Linked DNA regions of Homo sapiens: region 2 is linked to region 1. The links are contacts of gene promoters, found by promoter capture Hi-C in human tissues and cell types (Jung and others, 2019). All regions are on one chromosome and are shown on one strand. Each heading gives the region's core, a stretch centred on a gene start or on the middle of the fragment in contact. The rest is flanking DNA. Distances are from core to core; before and after follow the strand shown. Region 1 holds the start of CTAGE1 (cutaneous T cell lymphoma-associated antigen 1). Region 2 overlaps LOC124904265 (a long non-coding RNA gene).

Evidence for each region. The method cuts DNA at HindIII sites, captures the fragments that hold promoters and counts their contacts. A contact is called where the count stands out against the background at its distance.
Region 2: a contact is called between a fragment that was not itself captured here and the fragment with the promoter of CTAGE1 in region 1, in 1 of the 25 tissues and cell types used here (mesenchymal stem cells).

The regions. Positions count from the first base shown.
Region 1 is chr18:22,415,670-22,420,764 of GRCh38, forward strand. It overlaps CTAGE1 (cutaneous T cell lymphoma-associated antigen 1), which reads right to left and starts at 2,246. Exons shown (of 1, transcript NM_172241.3): 1 at 1-2,246. The coding sequence starts at 2,142. It also overlaps the pseudogene ATP7BP1. The HindIII fragment of the contact is 3,989 bases long and covers 1-2,899 here.
Region 2 is chr18:22,545,454-22,550,820 of GRCh38, forward strand. All of the region lies in intron 2 of LOC124904265 (a long non-coding RNA gene), which reads left to right. Among named protein-coding and RNA genes, the nearest start is that of CTAGE1, 130 kb to the left of the region's middle. The HindIII fragment of the contact is 8,698 bases long and covers 1-5,367 here.

The DNA.
Region 1 (5,095 bases), core at 996-3,495:
ACGTGGTGGACCTGGGACATCCCTTGGAGAAAAATAATCTGGAGAAGCTCCAAACACGGTTCCTGGAGGAGGTGGGGGGAAAGGAGGTCCTCTTCTTATGAACGGGCCCCTTGTATCTACTGGAAACAATAAACCTCTGATTGGAGCAAGAGGTGGAGGAACAAAGCCAGGGCCAGTTGCTTCATTTTCAGCGGGGAGAGATGAATCAGGCACCTTTAAATTACCAAGATTATCTTTGGTATCATTTCTACTGGATTCCATTTCTGAAGGCATTGACCCATCCATTTTATCCAAAGAAGGCATATTAAAACTTCTGAGTTCTGCTGGTCCAGAGAGTCTAGCACAATTAGAATAAAATCTGTCTTGCCTTTGTGGAGGGAGAGCTGAATCAGGATATGATTGTCCTGGTGGAGGAAACATCATCCTATAGTCCTGTTCCCACGGAGGTGCCAGGGGCCCAGCGTCAGAAGGAGCCCTGTGAGGATCAGTTAACCTATCACAGCTTGATTCTCCTCTTTCTTTGGTAATCTGATGGTCCGGAGGATTCCCTGGGCCTCTGGAGCCTCTTCCTCCTCCCCGTGGAAGCAAAGGTGAGAGTCTGAGAGGACCTTCCAACAAAGTTGGAGGATAGAGAGAAGCTCTCGTTTCAGATGAAGGCCAACCCAATGGTGAGGGACCATATGGGGAATGCTGTCTGCCAAATGCTGTATTTGGAACATCAAGTCCATAAGGATCTTTTTCTAAAAGTTTTATTTTAAACTCTATTTCAGTTAATTTTTGTCTGTTGTGAGCATTTTCTTTCCTTAAATCATTGAGGTTTCTTTCAGCAGTCCAAGCTGCCGACCAATTATCATGTGCTTTTTTCTCATGGAGAATAATCTTCTTTTGATAAAAATGAATAGTTTTCTCAAATTCTTTAAGATCTTTGGCTCGCTTTCGGTAGGTCTCCAGCTCTTCAGTGGCATGGCTGATCATTTCGTCTACTTTAGAAAGTTTCTCTTCTTTCTCTAACCGGCATTTTTCCTCTACTATTAATTTCCTGTAGAGTTTCATTTCATTTTCTTGATATAATTCAGTCATTACTTTAAGTTTCTGCTGAAGCTTCTGATTCTCACTTTCAAAATGTGTGTTTTCTGACTGCAAAGATGCTTGTTCAGTCTGAAGATTTTTAATATGCTCTGTAAGCTCTTCCTTTGTTTTATCAACTTCAGATAATTGAATATAAATTTGGTTTCTTTCTCCTTCTAAGGTTTTTAAGGAAGCATTTAACTTAGCAGCATGAATCAGTTTCTTCAAAGCTCCTTTTGGAGGATTATCTAAGTAAGCACCATCTTCCGATTCACTGTTCATTTCTAATTCCAAGTTATCATCATCCGTTACATCTTCTTCAAGCATAGCAACCCCATCTTTCATCTTTAGCAAGCGTTCAGTCAGAGTCTTGATGTGATTTTCTTTATCATTTAGAACTTGTTCTGCATGTACTTTGGAGTCTTCAAATGTTCTTTTCTGTTTAATAAGTTCACTCACTTGTTCTTTCCATACTTCAGCTTCTTGCAAAAGCTGTTTCTGGCTTTCCTGAAGTTCAGAATTTTCTTTCCAAGCATCTTGTATTTCTATCTCCAACCGTTCTTCATTCGCTTGAAATCTCTTGAAGGTCATTTTGGCTTCAGCTACTTGTGATTTGAGGGATTTTGACTCATCTTCTAGCGACTGTATCCTTTTGGAAATATCCGCCATCAATTCATTTTGTTCAGAATGTTTAGATTTCTCTTCTTTTAACTCTTTTTCTAGACAGAGTATTTCATGCACAAGTTCAGAATTGAACCTGTTCAGCTTTTCGCAGGTTGCCTCCAAACTTTGTGCTTCTGTTGCCTCCTTCTCAAAGCTGGCATTCTTTAAAGATGACTCTACTTCATAGCCTTCATACTCTTTTTGAACAAGGCTAAATTTTTCAAGTAGTTTACATTTTTCTTCAATTAGTCCAGAAAGTGCCACAGCAAACTTTTTCTCTCTTCTCACATAAAGCCGACTCGTAACTGATCTAAAACTTCTCCACAAGAAGAGAACAGCAAAAAATCCAGCAACAGCTGCACGTATCACCAATTCCCATGGAAAACCATAAGGATGAGAATCGGGTCTCATACCTTCAGTCAGTGCTGCCACAACCCTGCGTAGCAACTCCAGGACCAGCCCCAGGTATGGCTGAGGGTTAGCCCTAGGCTCCTCCGTAGCGCCAAGGCTGCTCTGGCGGTTGCTGCAGTAACCTCGGCCACAACAAACGCTGGAGAAGACGCAGCATTCCGTTTGGAACCTGAATCCCTAACGGGCAACCGGAGCGTACCACTGCGGAGCCGGCTGCGGGGGGAGTTAGGGGACGCGGGCACCCGTAGGCCTCACAGACCCACACTGCCCACCCCGGTACCTTTGTTACACTTTACATCCTGAGGAAGCGCTAAAACCTATATTTTAAAACAGTACCACATGGTGAGAAAGACTCAGGTGACCCAGCATCCCAGCTATGCCCATCCCAAGCTGACACCCTAGCTAAATGTAGCCTTGTGCATGACCCCAGGTGGGGCGGGCAGAAGAACCTCCCAGCTGACAGAATGATAAGGAATAACAAATCATTGTTTTAAGTCACTAAGCTTTGGGGTCATTTGTTATGCAGCAGTAGCTAACTGAAATACCTGCCCCCTTATCCCTTTGGTGTTTCAGTATCTGTGGCTGAAATAATGAATTTGGGTGCTTGACTAAGATTATGCCCTATGGTAAATTCTGATAGGTAATTTTATAGCTAAAATACAAATTTTCTGATTGACCTTTGCTTCATTGAAGAGATATTTATTTAGCTCCTCCCAAATGAGACAGATTATGCTTTTTAGATTAACTTCTTCCAGGAAAGGGCTCACCACTCCCTAGCATGAGCCTCAGCTGTCCCATGTACAACTGAAAAACGCTAATCTCATCCCCAGAAGATCCAGGACTCTTAGAACAGTGCTGGCACATAGAGAGTGATTCTCTTACCTGTCCATCAAACTTACCTGCTCTGTGTCCATTTCTGAAACACTGGCACTCCTTCAACACGGATGACGCCTTGCCCTGCAATAAGTCATCATCTCCCGCCCATGCACATATCTTCAACTCATCTGGAAAGCTTGCTCCTGCAGCAATGGGTATGCCCACTAGGTTATAAATCAGCGCCAGGACCAGTTTGATGCATATCCTCTGGACAGTCATCTTGGAAATATGAATGCTAGCCACCACATCCAGCAAATCATTTTTGATGAGGATGACGTTGGCTGCCTCGATGACCACATCCGTGCCAGTGCCAGTGGCAATGCCCAAGTCTGCCTGGGCCAAGGCCAGGGAATCATTGACCCCGTCCCCCACCATGGCGACTTTCTTCCCTTCATTCAGGAGCTCCTGAACCTTGGTCACCTTGTGTGAAGGCAACACCTCTGCAAAGACTTTGTTGATGCCAACCTGGGTGGCAAAGGCTCTGACTGTCTTCCAGTTGTCCCCCGTGATCAGAATCACGTTCACATGCATGCTTTGCAGCATGTGCACAGCCAGGGCAACCTCCTGCTTGACAGTGTCTGTGACAGCCATCATTCCACAGAGCACACCTCAACAACTTGCACAAGCACCAGCTCCCTTTGCCATCTTCCGCCCGCATATTTGTATAGTTCTTATATTTTCATTATTAAAAGACAACAAGCTGACTGCATTAGAATTTAAAGGCCTCTGGGTGACAAAACCGTTATAAGCAAAATAAGTAACAGATTTGGAAAATATATGCAACATATAAATTGACAAAGGAATAATATTCAGAATATATAAAGAACTAGGCTGGGTGCGGTGGCTCATGTCTATAATCCCAGCACCTTGGGAGGCCAAGGCAAGAGGATCACTTGAAGTCAGGAGTTCAAGGCCAGCCTGACCAACATGGTGAATCCCCGACTCTACTAAAATTACAAAAATGAGCCAGGTGTGGTGGTGGACGCTTGTAATCCCAGCTACCCAAGAGGTTGAGGTAGGAGAATCTCTTGAACCTGGGAGGTGGAGGTTGCAGTCAGCTGAGATTGCACCACTGCACTCCAGCCTGGGCAACAGAGCAAGACTTTGTCTCAAAAGAAAAAACAAAAGAACTACAAATCATTAATAAAAATATAGTTAATTGAGTAGAAACAGTAGACAAAAGTATGTACGAAGAGACAGGCAATTCTAGAGGAGGGAAATAAAATGTCCAGTGAACAGATAAAATGATACTCAACTTCACTAATTAAAAAAAAGCAAATTAGAACAATAGGGTATGCATTCTACTTCTGGAAAGATGAAGTAGAAGTATTTCCCCCCATTTCTCCTGCTAAGTACAGCTAAAAACCCTGGACAGTAGATATAAAACAACATGAGAAGACTGAACAGTGGAGAGAAGAAGGTAGACCAGCTAGAGATCTCAAAACCCAAGAAACAATATGGTGGTGAGTTCCGTGGGTTTTATTTTTGTCCCAAAGACGAGATGCTAAAGAAGTGGGCAACCAGTAAATGCCATAGACACAGAGCAGGGAAAGCCTGTCTCTCTGGTCAAAAGCCCATAAGAGGGGCAGGCTAGCAAGACAGAAAACTCTTAGGCATGAACTGATCTTTCCCAGCAGACACCACAGAAAAAAACTGTGGCCCACTCCATCTCTACCAGCAAAGTGCAAGAGGGTAACTTAAACTTCCACTCTGGACAAGCTCTACTGAGCACCCCTTGCTTCCCCACAACCCTTCCCCCGTGATATGATTGTTTGTGTCCCCATTCAAATATCATCTTGCACTGTAGTCCCCAATGGAGGGATCCAGTGGGAGGTGACTGGATCATGGGGGCAGTTACTCCCATGCTGTTTTTGTGAAAGTGAGTTCTCATGAGATCTGATGGTTTTATAAGGGGCTTTTGCCCTTTGCTCAGCACTTCTCCTTCCTGCTGCCATGTGAAGAGGGATGTGTTTGCTTTCTCTTCCACCATGATTGTAAGTTTCCTGAGGCCTCTCCATCAATGCTGAACTGTGAGTCAATTAATCCTCTTTCCTTTATAAATTACCCAGTCTCAGGT
Region 2 (5,367 bases), core at 2,290-4,789, 130 kb after region 1:
GAGAGAGCTCCCCACCTAAAGACAGAAGAAGTGAAGAAGTTTTATTGGAAGGATTGTCAAAGGCGGGGGGCGGGGAACACTTTGAGTCTCTTTGAGCCAGTTGATTAGGGGTGAGTTGATTTTCTTATGAACACTCTAAATCTACTCTCCCTGGGGGCAGGGAAACCTGAGAAGCTTGGATTTCAATGATTTAATTCCCCTTCTAAGAATAGCCAAAACTGGGGTGGAGAGAAGCTAATGAAGTCAACCACAGAAAGAACATTTGCAAATTGAGCAAAGCCCTGTGAATCTTAGGTAATAGCTGGGAGCCGAGTTTCTTTCTTCCACATCTCATAAACTACAAAATAACTCAGCAAAACATGTCAACCAATGGATGCTCTCCACAGGTTACATGATCTAAAGCTGAGATACAAGAAGCCAAACACAATTAAAACGTGCTTCCATTGGTAGGTTCATGGTGATGCTTTGCAGAGGTATCACCTAACCTACCAAGCTTTGGACATGCTTTATTCATTACAACACTGTCAAGATTAAGTTGCCACGACTTCATATCCCAGTTCATGAATTGCATCTACATACACCATATAATGAGCCTCACCAGTGTACGGAATGTGGACAGGTCTTCCCTTAATGCTGGGATTAATTAGTTAGTCTCTGGATGTGCCCTTGAGGTTTAGCGATTCACTTCACTCCCCAGTGCAGTGAATCCAAAAAGTACAAGATCCTTTCTCCAAGGAGGAGATGCAAATTCACAGATAGCCTGAAGCCTAACCTTGGGTTAGCCCCTGAGATCGACCCAGTTCCTTCTTACAGCAGGATCTCCTTGTGATGGCTTGGCAGGATTGACTGAGCTAGTGCTTCCTTCCAATGTTTGATTGGTTAAATAAAGATATCTTTCAATGTTTATATAATAGCATTCAGAACATAGTCTCCAGGGTAACTAGTGAGTAGAAATGGCAACATGTATGAGTCGGAATATTAAAAAGGAAATACACAAATCAGTCTTTCATTTCAAGGGTACATTTGATGTTGCATATCAATATCATTTTACATTTGAGGGTGAGCCCACCCTATGTTCCCTGTGAGCTGTGAGCAAGAGACAATAATCACACCCAATCCCAGTGGAGGCTACAGGTGAGGGGGAGGAGCAAAAACCATATAAACCGGTCTTTTCCATTCTGTTAGGAATAAGATGACATGAACAGCTTTTCCTGCCACAGTATCTCACCAACAGATTAGTTTTTAAAGGGAGGTTAAATCTGTTTGAACCTTGGCAAATTTGTTACTATAACCGTAGCATAGTTGTACGTGAAAACCAAATATTATTGTCCTTTATTATTCTGCTTTGTCTCCCATGTTTTTCCCATGGCTCTTAAAACAAAAGTGCTCAGCCAGGTTCTCACCCTTTGTCACTGAATGGAATGCATATTTTTGAAGGCTGATATACAGCTTAAAAAGGCAGCCGAATTTATATGTGATTTGAATAGTTGGCACCGTCATGCCAACTACTAGCGCTATCTATTCAAAAGGCAGCATCATTTTTCCTAAGGCCTTTCCTATGGTCTGTTTTCTAGGGCAAGTTGTCTCTCCATGGTGTCTGCTGCCTTCTCATACTCTTGGCTGACTTATATTCATTCCCTGGACACTCGGGAACACACTCCCAGAGCAGCCAGATTCAGAGTCAGTTTGTCCTTCATAGATAGGCAGTAAAACATTCCAATGTAGTTCCTCTGAGAGGGCTAGAATCGCTCGAGTTCTCTCCTGCTAGTTTGTCAAAAAAACTCCTGGGTGGACGTTTAACACCAGCAACAGTGCCAAAAATGGAATAGTTTCTCGTAGGAATTATATATGCTTATTCTTAAGGCCATGTAAGTAGACCCAATGAAGGCCTACTATCTTCTTCTTGGACATCACCACGGGATGGTGTGTGTGTGTATGTGTGTGAGTGTGAGTGTGTGTGTGACAGAGAGAGAGACACAAAGAGAGAAAACATAGGAATGCCAGATCCTCTCTTGTCTAATGGACAGTTTTTCAAAAGGAGCAGTGAGAATTCCTGGGGATTCACCGGTCAGTCTCTTCCAGTGTTTATCATCTCACATTACTCTCAGAAGTAACTTGTTAAGAGTAACTCATCTAAGAACAGAAGTTAGTTATACCGAGAAAAATATTCTAGACCTTGATGCCTTTCGTTTTTAATTTCCTTGTGCGTTTTACTTCCCCCAGAGTAGATAAACCGGGGGTGTTCACTAACTGAAGTCAGAAACCTCTCAACTCAAAATGTCTGGGAAGTCCTGTGTTCTGTTAGTTCCAATATACACGCATCAGCCATAAGGGATGTCTAAATAGTGCAAGACAATAAAATCCCTTCATGTTTTCTGTTTTAGGGAAATCCTGCATGGTTGCACTAGGGTCATAAAAAATTACTAATGTGTTTTCTCATGGCGCCGGGCCATCACATGGGCCCTGTGCAGTGGTATTGTATGCGGCCTGTAATCACAAACAAATGTATTCCACAAGCAGATGAGCTGTTATATGAGAAAGTGTGAGAGGTTAGAGCTTGAGCCTTCGTGTCAGCTACGAAGCAGGTCCGCCACAGTGGAAGACCCCTGAGGCCATGCAAATGAAAATGGCAGTTCCTGGGGGGGGGGTGGGGGTGGGAGGAGGACGCCAAGAGGGATGAGGTCACTGCAATAAACATCCAGCTTCCCTCTGAATGGGAAACTAGAAAAGCCTTCAACTATGGCACTACGTGGACTAGGAAAGGAGGTAGAATTTGTGGGTCAGGTGGGGCAAAAAGTGGAAATCCCCGTAGAGAGGAGACAAGTGACATCAGCGGGTGTCCCAGAAGGAGGGGTAGCTGAACAGGGAGCCAGCAGGCCTGGAGGCAGCCTCTATCAGTGAGGGAGATGGGCTGTCTGCTTCTGCCAACACTCCTGTGAGATGTCTAGCGTGAGGGGACACACAAGGGGGCAAGTTGTCAGTATGACACCCAGGCTTGCCATCACTGCAGGCCTCACTTGGAAGGACATTTATAATACTTTCCAGGACCAAGCATCATTCTGTCCAGGCAAAAAGAAATTCCATTAAAAAGTTGATGTATTTTGTCTTTGCCCCCGAAAAGGAATGTTCAAGCTATAAACAGTGACATTTCTTCATGTGAGTTCCTGTAAAAAAAAAAAAAAAAAAAAAAGAAAGAAAGAAAGAAAAAAAAAAGGGAATGCTTTCCAGAATTCTTAGAGGTAGAAAACTACTCCATACAAGCAATACGGCCAAATCCAAAATGCATTTACACAGAAGCAGTGTTGCAGAGTAGAAATGCACAGATTAAAAGCCTTCGCTCTCCTGCTCCCTGACTGATTTTGAGCAAGTTACTTATGGTTCCCAAACCCCAGCTTCCTTCTCAGGAAACAAGGGTAGTAATATCTGCCTTAAGGATTGTTGTAAAAATAAATCTCACAATTTAATCGCCACCCTTATGCCAACAACTTCTAGGTATTTTTCTCTCTGCTCACATTTCTCTCCTGAGCTCTGGATCCATAGACTCTCTCCCATGATTCTCAGGCTCTTCCAATCAAATGTCCAAAACCAGAATCATCTTTGCTTCCTCCAGCCTCACAGATCTGTTTTCTACTCAGCTAAGGTGCCACATGCATCGCCAGAAAACTTAGGCATCTCCCTAATATCTTCTTCTCCAACACCACTCTCACCTCAAATAAATCGCCAAATCCTTTTGATTGCAACTCTTTCAAATTTTCTAGCTGTCTCCATCCCTAGATCAGGTGCCATCATTTCCTCCTAGATCATCGCAGCAGTCTCTTTGCCTCTCACCTTGGCTTCTCCTCCCAGCCTATTCTCCACACTCCCTCCAGAAAGATCTTTGGCAAGAGCGAGTGGGCTTGGTCCTCTCCCCAGCTTAAATGGCTTCCCAGTGCCCTCAGGGTATTTCTTACCCTGGCTTGCCAAGCTCTTGTCAGTTCCTTTCTTACCACTCTACCTCCTATCTTTAGTCTCCACAGCTCCTGGCACTTTAGTTCCCTTTAGCCACGTCGGACTTTCTTGACTTGCTCTTATCTTCGGTTCTTTGCAGAGGTTGTTCTCTCTGCCTGAAATTGGCTTTTTTCCTGCTGTCTCCTCTCCTCTTATCTGACTAATTGCTACTCATGCTTCAGGTCCAAATTTAGATATCACCCCTCCAGAGCCTTTGTGCCCACAAGGCTGAATAGGGGTCCCTCTTATGTCCTGCCACGATACCTTGTACTCTCCCTATCATAAGCACATGGATGTCATCGTACTGGGCTTGCCCATGGACCTGCCAGTCTCTTCCAATTGAGAGCACACTCTTTGAGGACAAGGGTTGGCAGCAATGTATCTTCAGTGACATGTGCCAGACCACTCAATAATCATGTGGGAAGGGAGGGAGAGAGGGTGGGAGAAAGGAATAACATGACATGTTAAGCACCTAACACAGAATCAGTCACATATCAGCAATTATTAGTCTCCACTTTATGTTAATAAGCCATACATGTCTACTTTTCTTAATCAGGCCCCATAATTAGTTTTTTATGCTCAGCAAACTGGTGAAGTCCCTTCAGAGCTAGATCCGTTATATCTCTACAGTGAGCCAAGTGTCCCCACGGCAAAATTGTCTTAGATTTAGTCCCACTGACAATGAATTTAAAGTATTTAGGAAAACTTTGCTAAAATGTCCTGAACACATTGGATTAGGGGACTGGAATTCGGGGTAGGGGGTTAATGCCTTTCCTTTACCCTACTTTTCTCTTCCTCTTCTTCCTCCTCTTTCTTCTTTTTCTCTCTTAATCAGAGTCACAGAGAAATCCTGGAAGAGAGAGTGTTTAAGCCAATTTGGAAAAGTGTTTCTGCTCCTATGTTCTTGGGATCTTAGAACACAGAAGGCTCTATAAGTTTCAGAAGGCTCCAGATTAGAGGTTGAAACCTTAAAACTTAACCCCATTCCTCTATGACATGACTGGGGAAACCTCCCTTCTTTCTCCAAACCTTGCTCATCCCCTCCCTAAGAGAAATAACATAACTAGAAACCAGGACTTGCCTCATCACTGTTGAGACGCCCCCATTATTTGCTGCAAGCACCGTGAGTCAGGGCAGAGTGATCTTGTTCACTGCACAACCTCAGCACAGTGCCTGGGACAGAAGAGCTGCTCAGAAAACACCTGTTGAACAAATGTGTCAAAGGAATGTTCCTTCCTCTCCTATAGGAACTCCTGGGTGTAGGAAAAGTGGGTATCTCATTTCATAGAAGGAGATCAAATCAGAGAAGTTATAGGGGCCAGGTCATGGAAGGCCTTGGAAGTCATTGTAAAGACTTTCGTCTCTTACCCTGAGTGAGAT